Regions from separate parts of the Homo sapiens genome. Here all the other regions are linked to region 2. The links are contacts of gene promoters, found by promoter capture Hi-C in human tissues and cell types (Jung and others, 2019). All regions are on one chromosome and are shown on one strand. Each heading gives the region's core, a stretch centred on a gene start or on the middle of the fragment in contact. The rest is flanking DNA. Distances are from core to core; before and after follow the strand shown.

The links. The method cuts DNA at HindIII sites, captures the fragments that hold promoters and counts their contacts. A contact is called where the count stands out against the background at its distance.
Region 1: a contact is called between a fragment that was not itself captured here and the fragment with the promoter of FOXJ1 in region 2, in 2 of the 25 tissues and cell types used here (dorsolateral prefrontal cortex and heart right ventricle).
Region 3: a fragment that was not itself captured here is called in contact with the fragment with the promoter of FOXJ1 in region 2 in 1 of the 25 tissues and cell types used here (dorsolateral prefrontal cortex).

The regions. Positions count from the first base shown.
Region 1 is chr17:76,427,084-76,430,830 of GRCh38, reverse strand. The region is part of intron 1 of UBE2O (ubiquitin conjugating enzyme E2 O); the gene reads left to right. It also overlaps the pseudogene RPL7P49. Among named protein-coding and RNA genes, the nearest start is that of UBE2O, 24 kb to the left of the region's middle. The HindIII fragment of the contact is 3,437 bases long and covers 292-3,728 here.
Region 2 is chr17:76,139,599-76,143,471 of GRCh38, reverse strand. FOXJ1 (forkhead box J1) reads left to right here and starts at 2,227. Exons shown (of 3, transcript NM_001454.4): 1 at 2,227-2,358; 2 at 2,908-3,574. The coding sequence starts at 3,077. RNF157 (ring finger protein 157) reads left to right here. Exons shown (of 19, transcript NM_052916.3): 19 at 1-998. RNF157-AS1 (RNF157 antisense RNA 1) reads right to left here and starts at 2,916. Exons shown (of 8, transcript NR_040017.1): 1 at 2,792-2,916; 2 at 124-242. RefSeq lists silencers at 2,232-2,391, 3,070-3,139, 3,200-3,389 and an enhancer at 3,801-3,873. The HindIII fragment of the contact is 16,722 bases long and covers 1-3,873 here.
Region 3 is chr17:76,572,694-76,576,837 of GRCh38, reverse strand. It overlaps ST6GALNAC2 (ST6 N-acetylgalactosaminide alpha-2,6-sialyltransferase 2), which reads left to right. Exons shown (of 9, transcript NM_006456.3): 3 at 2,299-2,473; 4 at 3,475-3,643; 5 at 4,063-4,144. Among named protein-coding and RNA genes, the nearest start is that of ST6GALNAC2, 11 kb to the left of the region's middle. The HindIII fragment of the contact is 6,838 bases long and covers 1-4,144 here.

The DNA.
Region 1 (3,747 bases), core at 761-3,260, 290 kb before region 2:
GGTGTGAGCCCAAAGGGCCAAAAGATGTTGCAGCTTCTTTGCCTTTGTCAGATCTTTAATGGAACCTTTGTGAAGTTCAGCAGACCTTCAGTTAACATGCTGAGGATTGTGAAACCATGTATTACAAGGGGAACCCAAATCTGAAATCAGTAAATAAACTCATCTACAAGCATGGCCGTGGCAAAATCAATAAGAAGCGAATTGCTTTGACAGATAACACTTTGATTGATCAGTCTCATGGTCAATATGGCATCATCTGCATCGAGGATCTGATTCATGAGCTCTATACTGTGGCCCTTCAAGTTATCCTCTCCACAAAGTGGAATGAAGAAAAAGACCACCCATTTTGTAGAAAATGGAGCTGCTGCCAACAGGGAGGGCCAGATCCACAGGCTTCTTAGAAGAATGAACTGCGGTGTCTACCGTGATTATTTTTCTAATCTGGTCAGTTAATAAATAGTACCTGCTCTCAAATTGAAAAAAAAAATCTTCGGTTAGCATACTTTAGGTAAACATGGTAGATTGAACATATTCATTTAAATCTACTTCCCCTAGAAACTCTGCTAAAATAACAGCAAAATAATTGTTTTTAGATGTATAAACCCACAAGGACACAGAATGGGAGAGAAAACAATAACAAAAGATCTCCAATTTCTAGAAGGTGGAAGGCAAACAGAAGACTGAGCAGAGCAGAGGCTGAAATGTTGGTACCTGCGGAAAAACACCAAGGAAAAGCACTTTAGAAAGCATCAGGAATTGGAGGCAATTGGTGGCACTCAAGGTGGGAATAAGGTTTGGGCCTAAAAGCAGAGGGATTATGATTAGTTGACAGTCTGTATAGGGAGGGATGAAACTTCCCAAGTCATCTCTTTGAATTCTGCAAACCAGAAAATACTCAATCCCCTTTGCTGGCGAGTGAGAGAGCAGAGGCTTATGCACCAGATTGAGGTACCTTGGGCAGAGCAAGGGGCAGGGTAACGCTGGACTGAAAGAGGGATTCATGAACGTCTGCACACTAAAAGAGCAAATCCCAGCCATGCCCCTGCCTGCTCCTGGAGTGCTGAGGCCAGGCATGAGGCATGGCATTGGATTCCAGTCTGGAAAAAATGAGCATGTCAGCAACAAGACCTGCCATTGCCAGTATGTAGTGGCTCCTCACAGCAGTGGCCAGCTTTCTACTCCATCTAATGTGGTCCTCACCTGTCCAGAGCCTTGCTTATGTTCACAGGGTTTCTATCATCTTTTTATCACCTCAACTTTTTTAACTTTTTTTTTTTTTTTTTTTTTTTGAGACAGAGTCTCACTCTGTCACCCAGGCTGGAGTACAGTGGTGTAATCTTGGCTCACTGCAACCTCTGCCTCCCAGGCTGAAGCACTTCTCCCACCTCAGCCTCCCAAGTAGCTGGGATTACAGCCATGCGCCACCACTCCTGGCTAATTTGTGTGTTTTTTGTCAAGATGGGGTTTTGCCATGTTGCCTAGGCAGGTTTCAAACTCCTGAGCTCAAGTGATCTGCCCACCTCAGCCTCACAAAGTGCTGGGATCACAGGCATGAGCCACCATCCCCAGCCCAACTTTTTATTTTGAAATAATTATAGATGCATAGGAAGTTGCAAACATAGTAGAGGGCTGGCTGGACGCGGTGGCTCATGCCTGTAATCCCAGCACTTTGGGAGGCCGAGGCGGGCAGATCACGAGGTCAGGAGTTCGAGACCAGCCTGGCCAACATGGTTAAACCCCGTCTCTACTAAAAATACAAAAATTAGCCGGGCATGGTGGCATGCGCCCGTAATCCCAGCTACTCGGGAGGCTGAGGCAGGAGAATTGCTTGAACCCAGGAGGCAGAGGTTGCAGTGAACCAAGATCATGCCACTGCACTCCAGCCTGGGCGACAGAGCAAGACTCCATCTCAAAAAAAAAAAAAAAAATAGTAGAGGGGTCCCCTCTACCCTTCATGCAGTTTCCCTTGATGGTCATGTCTTATATAATCACAGACAATATGAAAATCAGGGAATTGACATGGGTACACAATATGTGCATACAGTTTCACACCCTTTATCACATCTGTGGATTCATGTAACCACATGTAACAGCAGTCAAGATACACAACTCTTCCATCACCACAAAGATCTCTTATTGCCTCACTTTTAAATAGGAATGGATGCCAAGAATAACTGGATATGTTCAGAAAGCTTCCAGTATGGAAGGTAGAGGCCAGAGAAAGCAAAGAGAAAAATGTATCTCCGAGGAATCAGAGCTGATTCAGGTAGGAGAAAGCCTTAAAGCACATGGCAAATATACTCAGAAAGAAGAGCCAATATTTTATCCATGAAATAAAAAGTTACTATAAAAATCAGAACAAGAAAGAGTTCTCGGAAATTAAAACCATTACTTTTTCTTTGAAGTTGACGAAGGCTCCCAGGAAACAGATTAAAAACGTCTGACATCTAGGAAGTCTATAAAGAGAGAAAGGGAAAATTAAGGACCATAATGTATCAGAGAAACAAGAATTATTTCAGAATGGACAGTCATAAGTTTCAAAAATGGTAAATGGAAAATGTCCTGTGGCACATTGTGTGATTCCAGAGCACTGGGCATAAAGCTTCCGAAGAGCAAAAACGGGTCACATACAAAAGACTGGGAATGAAGATGGATTGGATTTTTCAACCTCATTGGAAGCCAGAAGACAATGGGGTGGATTTCCTGTTTCAGTGACATGGTAGCTTGAGCTAAAGTTAGAACCGCTCCCATTACAATCACTTAAAATGCTATATAAGCTATAACAACAGAATAAGAAAGAAAAACAGAGAACCGAAAGCAAAGCAGGAATATAAAGCCAGAGCAGAGTAGGCAGCTCTGGGGAGGGGCAAGGTGGGTTCATTGGACCCTGAAATCGACCCTAACAATAATAGAGGTTTGGATTTGCATGAACACGTGAAGCATGGAGTTGAAACAGAAATCCCCTCAAAAGAGCCATTCCCAGGTAAAAGGGATGCAAGAAAATTTCCCCCATGGGATCAGAGAAATGTCAAGGGAGCTGATCATTGCCCCACACTCTGGATTGTGTTGGAGGAAGTCTTCTGTGAACAGTGGAAAACATCCAAGTTCTAAGTCTGTGTTTATAACATCTACATGTTGCAGGAATGCCCGAGCTGGCACCAGACCAGCCAGCAGACTGGCGATACCCCTGAAGCTTCTTGCTTGCAGAACAAAGGCAGAACTTTTCTAGAGTGACCCTTGCACAGTACAGGCCTTTTGGAATCCTAGGATGCCCACAGATGATGAGCTTGTTCTAGGAAATTACCAAGCATGTAGAAATTAGAACATGAGTCAGCGATCACAACAAACACAAGATTCTCAACATGAGAATTCAAATAATAGAAGAGATTATAATAGAAATGTCTAAAGTGATTGAAGGGCTAAAAGAAGAAATAGATGTCAAAGGAAAGAATAAGACAGAATACATCTTAAAAGGGATTATTTTTTAAAGAATCAAATAAAGCCTCTAGAGTGAAAACATTGAGTTAAAACCCCAGTGGAAATGTTAAACAGCAAATAGCATAAATTCTCAAGAGAGAACTATGGGAACTGGAAAACAGATCTGCAGAAGTTAGTTAGAATTCTGCAGAGATAAAAGAGATGCTTGTGAGGAAGAGACATTACAAACATGGATGGTGGTATGAGGGCCCAGTGGGAAAAATAGCATCCTAAAGGCAGCTTGAGAAGAAAGGCAGATTACTCCCCAGG
Region 2 (3,873 bases), core at 978-3,477:
ATTTCCCTGAAATATGAGCCCAGAAGCAGCAGGTGACAGGGAGCTTCCCTTACCCTGGGGTGGTGGCACACAGACCACCTCCTGTCCTGTCCCCTGCAGGTAGTATTCACAGTGTGGTGTTACCTGGGAGGAGGGAGGAAGGAGCTGAGATGAAGGAGATTCAGGTAAACAGTAGCCACAGTGGCCAGGACCCCCTTCCTGAGGATCCCTGTCCTTCCTCGCAGCAGGTGCTTAGTCCTCTCCTAGGGAGAAGCACGGAAAGATTCCTCAAGGCCTCAGTCCCATGTCCAAGGCATACCTAGGTTAGAAATGTCCTTTACTTGTTTCTCAGTTACTATTTCTCCTCTTCCTCCCTCCCCCTGCCTTCTCTTGGCTGTCATTTAGCTCTCTGGCCCACAGAAATACTCCATCCAAGGAGCTGGTCCTCAGTCAGCCTGATGAGGACAGGTCAGTGGCCAACCCTTTTGCCCCAGTCCTTCATCTGGAGACAGTCACATAGTCACGTCAACAGTTCACCCAAAGAGAAGAGGTGGGGCCTGGCTTCTCCCACAGGGCACAGCCTAACTATGGAGACCCAGGGCTCCTTCCTGCTGCACTAGGCCTGTGCTCTCCCTATTGCCTTCAGGTGGTGTGATCCCGGCTTCCTCACAGAGCCCTTTTTTCCTTCTGCCCAGCTCCATCCCACCAGAGTTTCTACCCCCGCTGAGGCATCTCCTGGGCACAGACCACCACACTCTAAGCCGGCTGGCCTGGGAGTTAGGGTCCTGCCCACCTCACCTGGGAGTTGGGGTCCTGCCCACCTGGAGTTTAGCACGCTGGTCGCTCACTTTGCTTTGGTCTGCACACCTGGTGTGTGCATGTGTATACTGCTTGTGCCATCTGTGTACCCCTCTCCCTGGAGTACACTTGTGGTCACACTACAGTGGGGACATCAAGAATGCAATATTTATGGATTGCTGCATGATTCTTAAAAATGAATAAAACTGTTTACAAGGGAAGGAGAGCTAACTGCAAAGTGAGCTTATCTGTGAAAGTTTCTGTCTGACTTTCGCCAGCACTCTTTAATACTTTTACTCAAGAGGATCTGGAGTTGGAGGAGTGGGAGAGGCAAGGGCTAGGGAAAGGCATGTTGGCGGGGGAGTGATGCGCCATAGCCGGGCCTTCTTCATGGTCTGGGCACCAGCCTCCCCGACCCCGGCTCTCCAGCTCCTGGGCAGAGGCGGGGTAATCAACCCAGCCCCCACCACTGCCTCTGCAGCCGCCTTAAACCGGAGAACGTCCAACCCTGCAGCTCCTCAATAATTAAAGAGCAGGAAAGCTGGTGACAGGAGGGAGGCCAGGGGAAGGGAGGAGGAAGGGACACAGTCCCCAGAGTCCCTCTACTCTTAATCCCTGTGACTTAAAGGTTGGTGAAATTAATTGGGCAAATGACCCCGCTAGGAGAATTTGACAAGTCCATGACTTCAGAGTTTTACCCACGGGCTCTGCTTCATCAGCTGTCTCCAGAGGAGTGAGTGCGCTTCTGCAGAAGCCTCTGGAATGTCAGCTTCCTGGAACCTCGAGGATACGGGTGGGGAAGGAGCTGCTTACTGGGACACACTGGATTACCCTACCCCCTTGGTGTGTCTGCCGCCTCTGTGGATGTAAGCGGCAGGTGGCATCGGAAAGTCAGACCTGCCTGGGACACCAGAGAAAGACCCTAAGAGTCGGGGGAGAGGGAAAGGCTGCAGAAACATGAGAAAGTGCCACTCGTAGCGGAGAGGAAAGAAAACCTCAAGGATACGGTTCCCGAGCCTGAGCCCGCTCCCAGCCTTAGCCCCCCAACCCCAGGCTCCGTCCCAGGAGCAGTCGACGCCTCAAAGCGTACGGGACAGGAAGGGGGTGGGGGCGAGAGTCTTGGTTCCCCAGAACGAACGGATCCATAGCGGTTCCCGGTGCCGCAGGCCGCGCGCTTCTCCGACCCCAGCGCGGGGCCCTCGGGCGGGAATGAGCCGAGCCGGGACTTAGCGGCGGGTAGGGGGTTGGGTGGCGCGGGAGAGGGCGGCAGAAGGAGGGAGTTCGAAGAGAGTTGCCGCCAGGGAGAGTGGCAAGTGCCCGCGGTCTCCTTGGAGACGTGCTGGCCAATGGCAGAGGCGGAAGCTGTTTATGGGGGCGGAGCGTCGCCATGGCAGCAGGAGAAGCCTTTGGAGCGGCTACTTAATGCCGGTCCCGGGGCCGCGGTAGCTCAGAGAAGCGCCGTCGGGCGGGGGGGCGGCAAGAGGCGCTGGCAGGGCCCCCGAGCTGGGGGCAGAGAGCCGCAGGGGGTGGGAGCAACTTCTTCCAGAACCTTCCTCTGGCCCGGGCTGCGCTCTGAGCCAGGTAAGGGATGGGGAGGGCTGCAGGCCAGGGGGAAGGGTGGGCAACGGTACCAACCCGCTCTCTCATTCGTCCTTAACGGAAGTGGTGGGCCCAGGGACTGACATCGGAGAAGTCTGGGGGAAACTCGCCTCCTGCCCCCCGTTACTGTTCCGTCCCCTTCCTTCCCAATGATCCCCTATCATAATATTCCTTTTCAAGGATCAGAGGACCTCCACCGCCCCCGCCCCGTCGTACCGCCCTCCCAAACTTCTCGCCCCACTTCCATTTGTTGCGAGGAGGAAGGGGGTCCTGATTTCCTGCTCTTCGGGAGAAAAGGATAGCCTCGGATGCCCCTACCCTCTTCATTTGGCTAATAAAACCTCGAAGAGGAAAGGAAGAGGGAGGCAGATCTGATGGGGGTGGGACCCCAGGGCCTTGCTTCTGTTTCCCATACCTCGGCACTAAAAGATCCTCCCCAGCTGCGGGGATGATGTTAGAGAGGGCGTCCCCGTACACACACTGTCCCCTCGGGGGTGGGGTAGTGCTCAGCTCCCACCGTGGTCCTCGCAGGCACCACATACTTATTCGGAGGAGGCGCCCCCGGGGTCGCGAGATGGAAGCGCGCGTCCGGGAGGCCGTGTAACGGGAGCTGCGGGACTCAGCGGGCCAGAGAGCGCGGCGGGCCACCCCCGGCTCAGCCCGTGGATGCTGACCGCCCCCTCGGAGAGTCCCCGCAGACATGGCGGAGAGCTGGCTGCGCCTCTCGGGAGCCGGGCCGGCGGAGGAGGCCGGGCCGGAGGGCGGCCTGGAGGAGCCCGACGCCCTGGATGACAGCCTGACCAGCCTGCAGTGGCTGCAGGAATTCTCCATTCTCAACGCCAAGGCCCCCGCCCTGCCCCCGGGGGGCACCGACCCCCACGGCTACCACCAGGTGCCAGGTTCAGCGGCGCCCGGGTCCCCCCTGGCGGCCGACCCCGCCTGCCTGGGGCAGCCACACACGCCGGGCAAGCCCACGTCGTCGTGCACGTCGCGGAGCGCGCCCCCGGGGCTGCAGGCCCCACCCCCCGACGACGTGGACTACGCCACCAATCCGCACGTGAAGCCTCCCTACTCGTATGCCACGCTCATCTGCATGGCCATGCAGGCCAGCAAGGCCACCAAGATCACCCTGTCGGCCATCTACAAGTGGATCACGGACAACTTCTGCTACTTCCGCCACGCAGATCCCACCTGGCAGGTAGAGGAGGCACGGGCGGCGGCCGCTCCCTCCCCATTCCCTCCTCGCTCCCCACGCTGCACTGGATTCATATCCCAAATCTGCAGGCCAAGTAGGCTCTGCGGTGCGGCCAGCGCCCCAGAAGGGAGCCCTGCAAAGGAGCCCAGTTCTTGCAACTGCCCCTCCTTTGACTTCCAGAGAGAGAGAGAGAGAGAAGGGAGAATGTCCAGAGGTGGAGGGCTTTAGGGGTGCAGAGGCTGAGATTCAAGGGGAAATAACCTGCCATTCATCCAGCAGGCCCAGGCCAAAGACCAGGGCTA
Region 3 (4,144 bases), core at 395-2,894, 430 kb before region 2:
CCACCACACCAGGCTAATTTTGTATTTTTAGTACAGACAGGGTTTCACCACGTTGCTCAGGCTGGTCTCAAACCCCTGAACTTAGGTGATCCACCCACCTCTGCTTCCCAAAGTGCTGGGATTATAGGCATGAGCCACCGTGCCCGGCCTGGATTTTTTTTTGAGTGGTTTTGTCAGTGAAAACTCTAGGTTAACATAGAAACCACACCCAACTCAGCAGAGCCATGTAGGAATACACAAAAAGTACACACATGCACACCTGAAATCTCCATCAGCTTCACCGAGTGTGTTATGGGTTCACCTGCCCTAGTGAGTCTGGTGGCACAATTCCCTCCGATTTCAGACAACTTCTTTCCACCATTTCACAATATCACACAAACTGCCCCCTTCCGACACCCACTTCCACACCCACTTCCACATCAATCTCAAGTATTCTTTAACCACGGGACATCAGTAAAACTGTGCTTCTGTCTTTCTTCGATTTGTATCTTTGGTTTTACGCATTCCTGACAGCGTTTCAGTGTTATGTCACTCATCCCATGTTCTCATAGGCCCGTGGTTTTTCGTTTTGCTATTGTTGTTTTGTTTTGTTTTTGAGATGGGGTCTCACTCTGTTGCCCAGGCTGCAGTGCAGTCTCAGTAGCTCACTGCAGCCTCAATCTCCCAGGTTCAAGCAATCCTCCCACCTCAGCTTCCCAAGTAGCTGGGACCATAGGTCTGGGCCACCATGCCTGGCTAATGAAAAAACATTTTTTTGCAGACATGGGGTCTTGTTATGTTGACCAAGCTAATCTGGAAACTCCTGGCCTCAAGTTATCCTCCCGCCTTGACCTCCCAAAGCGCTGGCATTAGAGGGGTGAGCCCCCATGCCCAGCTACCCCATGATCATGATTGCATAGCTTTGCATAGCATGGTGATATTTAGCCACTCATAAGTTGCATTATAGCAGAAATTACTGTACAGCTATTTCCTGCTTTGTCTTTTGATCAAACGAATGGCTTAACAAAGAGCCCCATTCAGGAGTAATAGAAGGCCCACCCAGGCCATGACTGTGTGTGATTCTGAACTTGTGGGGTCACGGGCAGACAAGGCTGGGGCCTGTTTCCTGACCTCACCCTCCCTCAAGGCCCACAAGTACAGAGGTGCTGTGTTCCTTCCCCGTGGCTGCTGGAACAAATGATCACAGCCTGGGGGGCTTCGATCCACAGAAATTGAATCGTCACAGTTCTGGAGCCCAGAAGCCCAGAATCAAGGTGCTGGCAGGGCCACGCTCCCTCCGAAGGCTCGAAGAAAGCCTCCCCTGCCTTTTCCCAGCTCTGGCGGCTCCACTGCTCTTTGGCTTATGGTGCATCGCACAGATCCCTGCTTCATCATCACCCGGCCTCTTTCCACGGATGCTAGTTAGGGCCTGACCTCACCCTATATGACCTCCTCCTAACTAATTCCATCTCCAAAGACCCTAGTTCCAACTAAGGTCACATTCCAAGGCTCTGGGTAATGAATTTTGGGGGGACACTTCCACTCCCTAAAGGCACCACTGGAAAGAAAGACTATCACGGATCTTCCTGGCAGCCTGTTCACACACAAATTATACAGCGAGTACCAGTAGGGTTAGGGTTTTGCATCCAGGGTGACAGCCTCAGCTCAGCCCAGGCTGAAACTACTCCACCAAAGGGCAGGCAGGTCAGACCCATACATCAGAAAATGCCCCAGAGTTTGCTCAAGCGTGAGATGAAGGAGTGTGAGGCCAGAACCACCAGGCCAAGGGGACATGGCCTCTGGGAGAGGAAGAGCTAGGCAGGCTAAATCCAGAAAGTTCCCAGACCCCCTAGCTGCCAGCTCAGTTCAAAAATGCAAGGATGGGCCAGGCGCGGTGGCTCACGCCTGTAATCCCAGCACTTTGGGAGGCCGAGGCGGGTGGATCACGAGGTCAGGAGATCAAGACCACCCTGGCTAACATGGTGAAACCCCGTCTCTACTAAAAATACAAAAAATTAGCCGGGCGTGGTGGCGGGCGCCTGTAGACCCAGCTACTCGGCAGGCTGAGGCAGGAGAATGGCGTGAACCCGGGAGACGGAGCTTGCAGTGAGCCGAGATGGGGCCACTGCACTCCAGCCTGGGCGACAGAGCGAGACTCTGTCTCAAAAAAAGAAAAAAAAAAATGCAAGGATGGCCCCAATCTGGAGGGGACAGGGCAGGCCTTCCCTCACAACTCGCAACTCCCCTGCAGGGTCTGCAGGGCCCCACCCACCCCAGCCCCTACCTAACGGGGCTCAGCCCTCACCTTCTCACCCACAGGGCCAGGCCTGCCGACACCTGCTTCACCTGGCCATTCAGCGGCACCCCCACTTCCGTGGCCTGTTCAATCTCTCCATTCCAGTGCTGCTGTGGGGGGACCTCTTCACCCCAGCGCTCTGGGACCGCCTGAGCCAACACAAAGCCCCGTATGGCTGGCGGGGGCTCTCTCACCAAGGTAACCCGCGCCCGCTGTCTCTCACCTGCCTTCTGCCTTAGCTTCCTGCTCTTTGCCCTGAAGTAGGCCAGGCCTCTCTGCCCTCATAGCACTGGTGATGCCAGGTCTCCCTGTCCCCCTCTCTCCTCCCAGAAGCCCCAGCTATGCAACTCCTGCCTCACCTCCCTCCTCCGTCCAAGCACCCAGGGGTCAGTGAGAGTCATGGGGCTGCCCCCGCCAGTGGGCCTCACCATCCTGGGGCCTCCCTGGCAAGAAAGGCTGCAGCGTCCAATGGTGGCCAAGGACAGAGGCTGTGGGGCCTCAAACCACCTCACTCACGGTTGCTGCTGCAGGAACCCCCACACTGCAGGCCCAGAGCCCCCTCTACATTATACCTGCACCCAAACCCCCACAGGCCTCCGATTCTTTTCTTTTGCAATATACAGTCTTTTTTATTTTTGAGATGGAGTCTCGCTCTGTCACTCAGGCTGGAGTGCAATGGCACAATCTCAGCTCACTACAACCTCCGCCTCCCGGGTTCAAGTGATTCTTGTGCCTCAGCCTCCCAAGTAGCTGGGATTAGGCACGCACCACCACGCCTGGCTAATTTTTGTATTTTTAATAGAGACATGGTTTCACCATGTTGCCCAGGCTGGTCTCGAACTCCTGGCCTCAAGTGATTCACCCACCTCACCCTTCCAAAGTTCTGGTATTACAGGTGTGAGCCACCGTGCCCAGCCCAGTCTTTTTTAAGCCCTGAGCTCACTTCTCTAGCACCAGTCTTAAGAAGATAAGGTATTCAAGTTCTTAAGACAAGTGAAGGCCGCCAAGCCCCCTCTTCCACTGTCAGCTTTTCAATTCTCCCCCCACAGACATCTCCTTCCCCTCCCACCCTCTGTGCTTCTTGGGAGGGGCTAGGGTCAGGCCTCAGGGGAGATGGGGCACCAGAACCAGCCTAGGGAAGGCCCCAGGTGCCCCCGATGCCAGCCCTCCTCATGGCTGCTCCCCATCTGCACCCACAGTCATCGCCTCCACCCTGAGCCTTCTGAACGGCTCAGAGAGTGCCAAGCTGTTTGCCCCGCCCAGGGACACCCCTCCAAAGTGTATCCGGTGTGCCGTGGTGGGCAACGGAGGCATTCTGAATGGGTCCCGCCAGGGTCCCAACATCGATGCCCATGACTATGTATTCAGGTATGAGGGGTAGGAGCTGGGGAGGGGCGGGAGGGAGAGTTGCCTGGAGGGTGGGGGTGTCTCCCCCAGGGGCAGTGGGCTATGGCAGCAGTGGCCTGGGCGGCTCAGCAGTTGTGACCAGCACACGGGCATGGACAAGGCAAAAACAAACAGTAGGCCCTGAGGACGGAGCATGGGTGCCCATGCAGGGGACCCAGGAGGAAGCAGCCGCCAGGGCCAGCTCTACCCACTCACAGGGCGTCACCCCTTGAGGTCTGGAGGAGTGGGGGTCTGGTTGACAACTGGGCACTGGTACTGCCATGGGCAGAAGGAGTGGTCATACAGAGGCAGGGGGATAGGCCAGGCAGAGCCGTGGAGATGGAAGCAGAACAGACGGCCTGGTGTAACCGCAGACACTGATGGGCCTCTGTGCCAACCAGACTCAATGGAGCTGTGATCAAAGGCTTCGAGCGCGATGTGGGCACCAAGACTTCCTTCTATGGTTTCACTGTGAACACGATG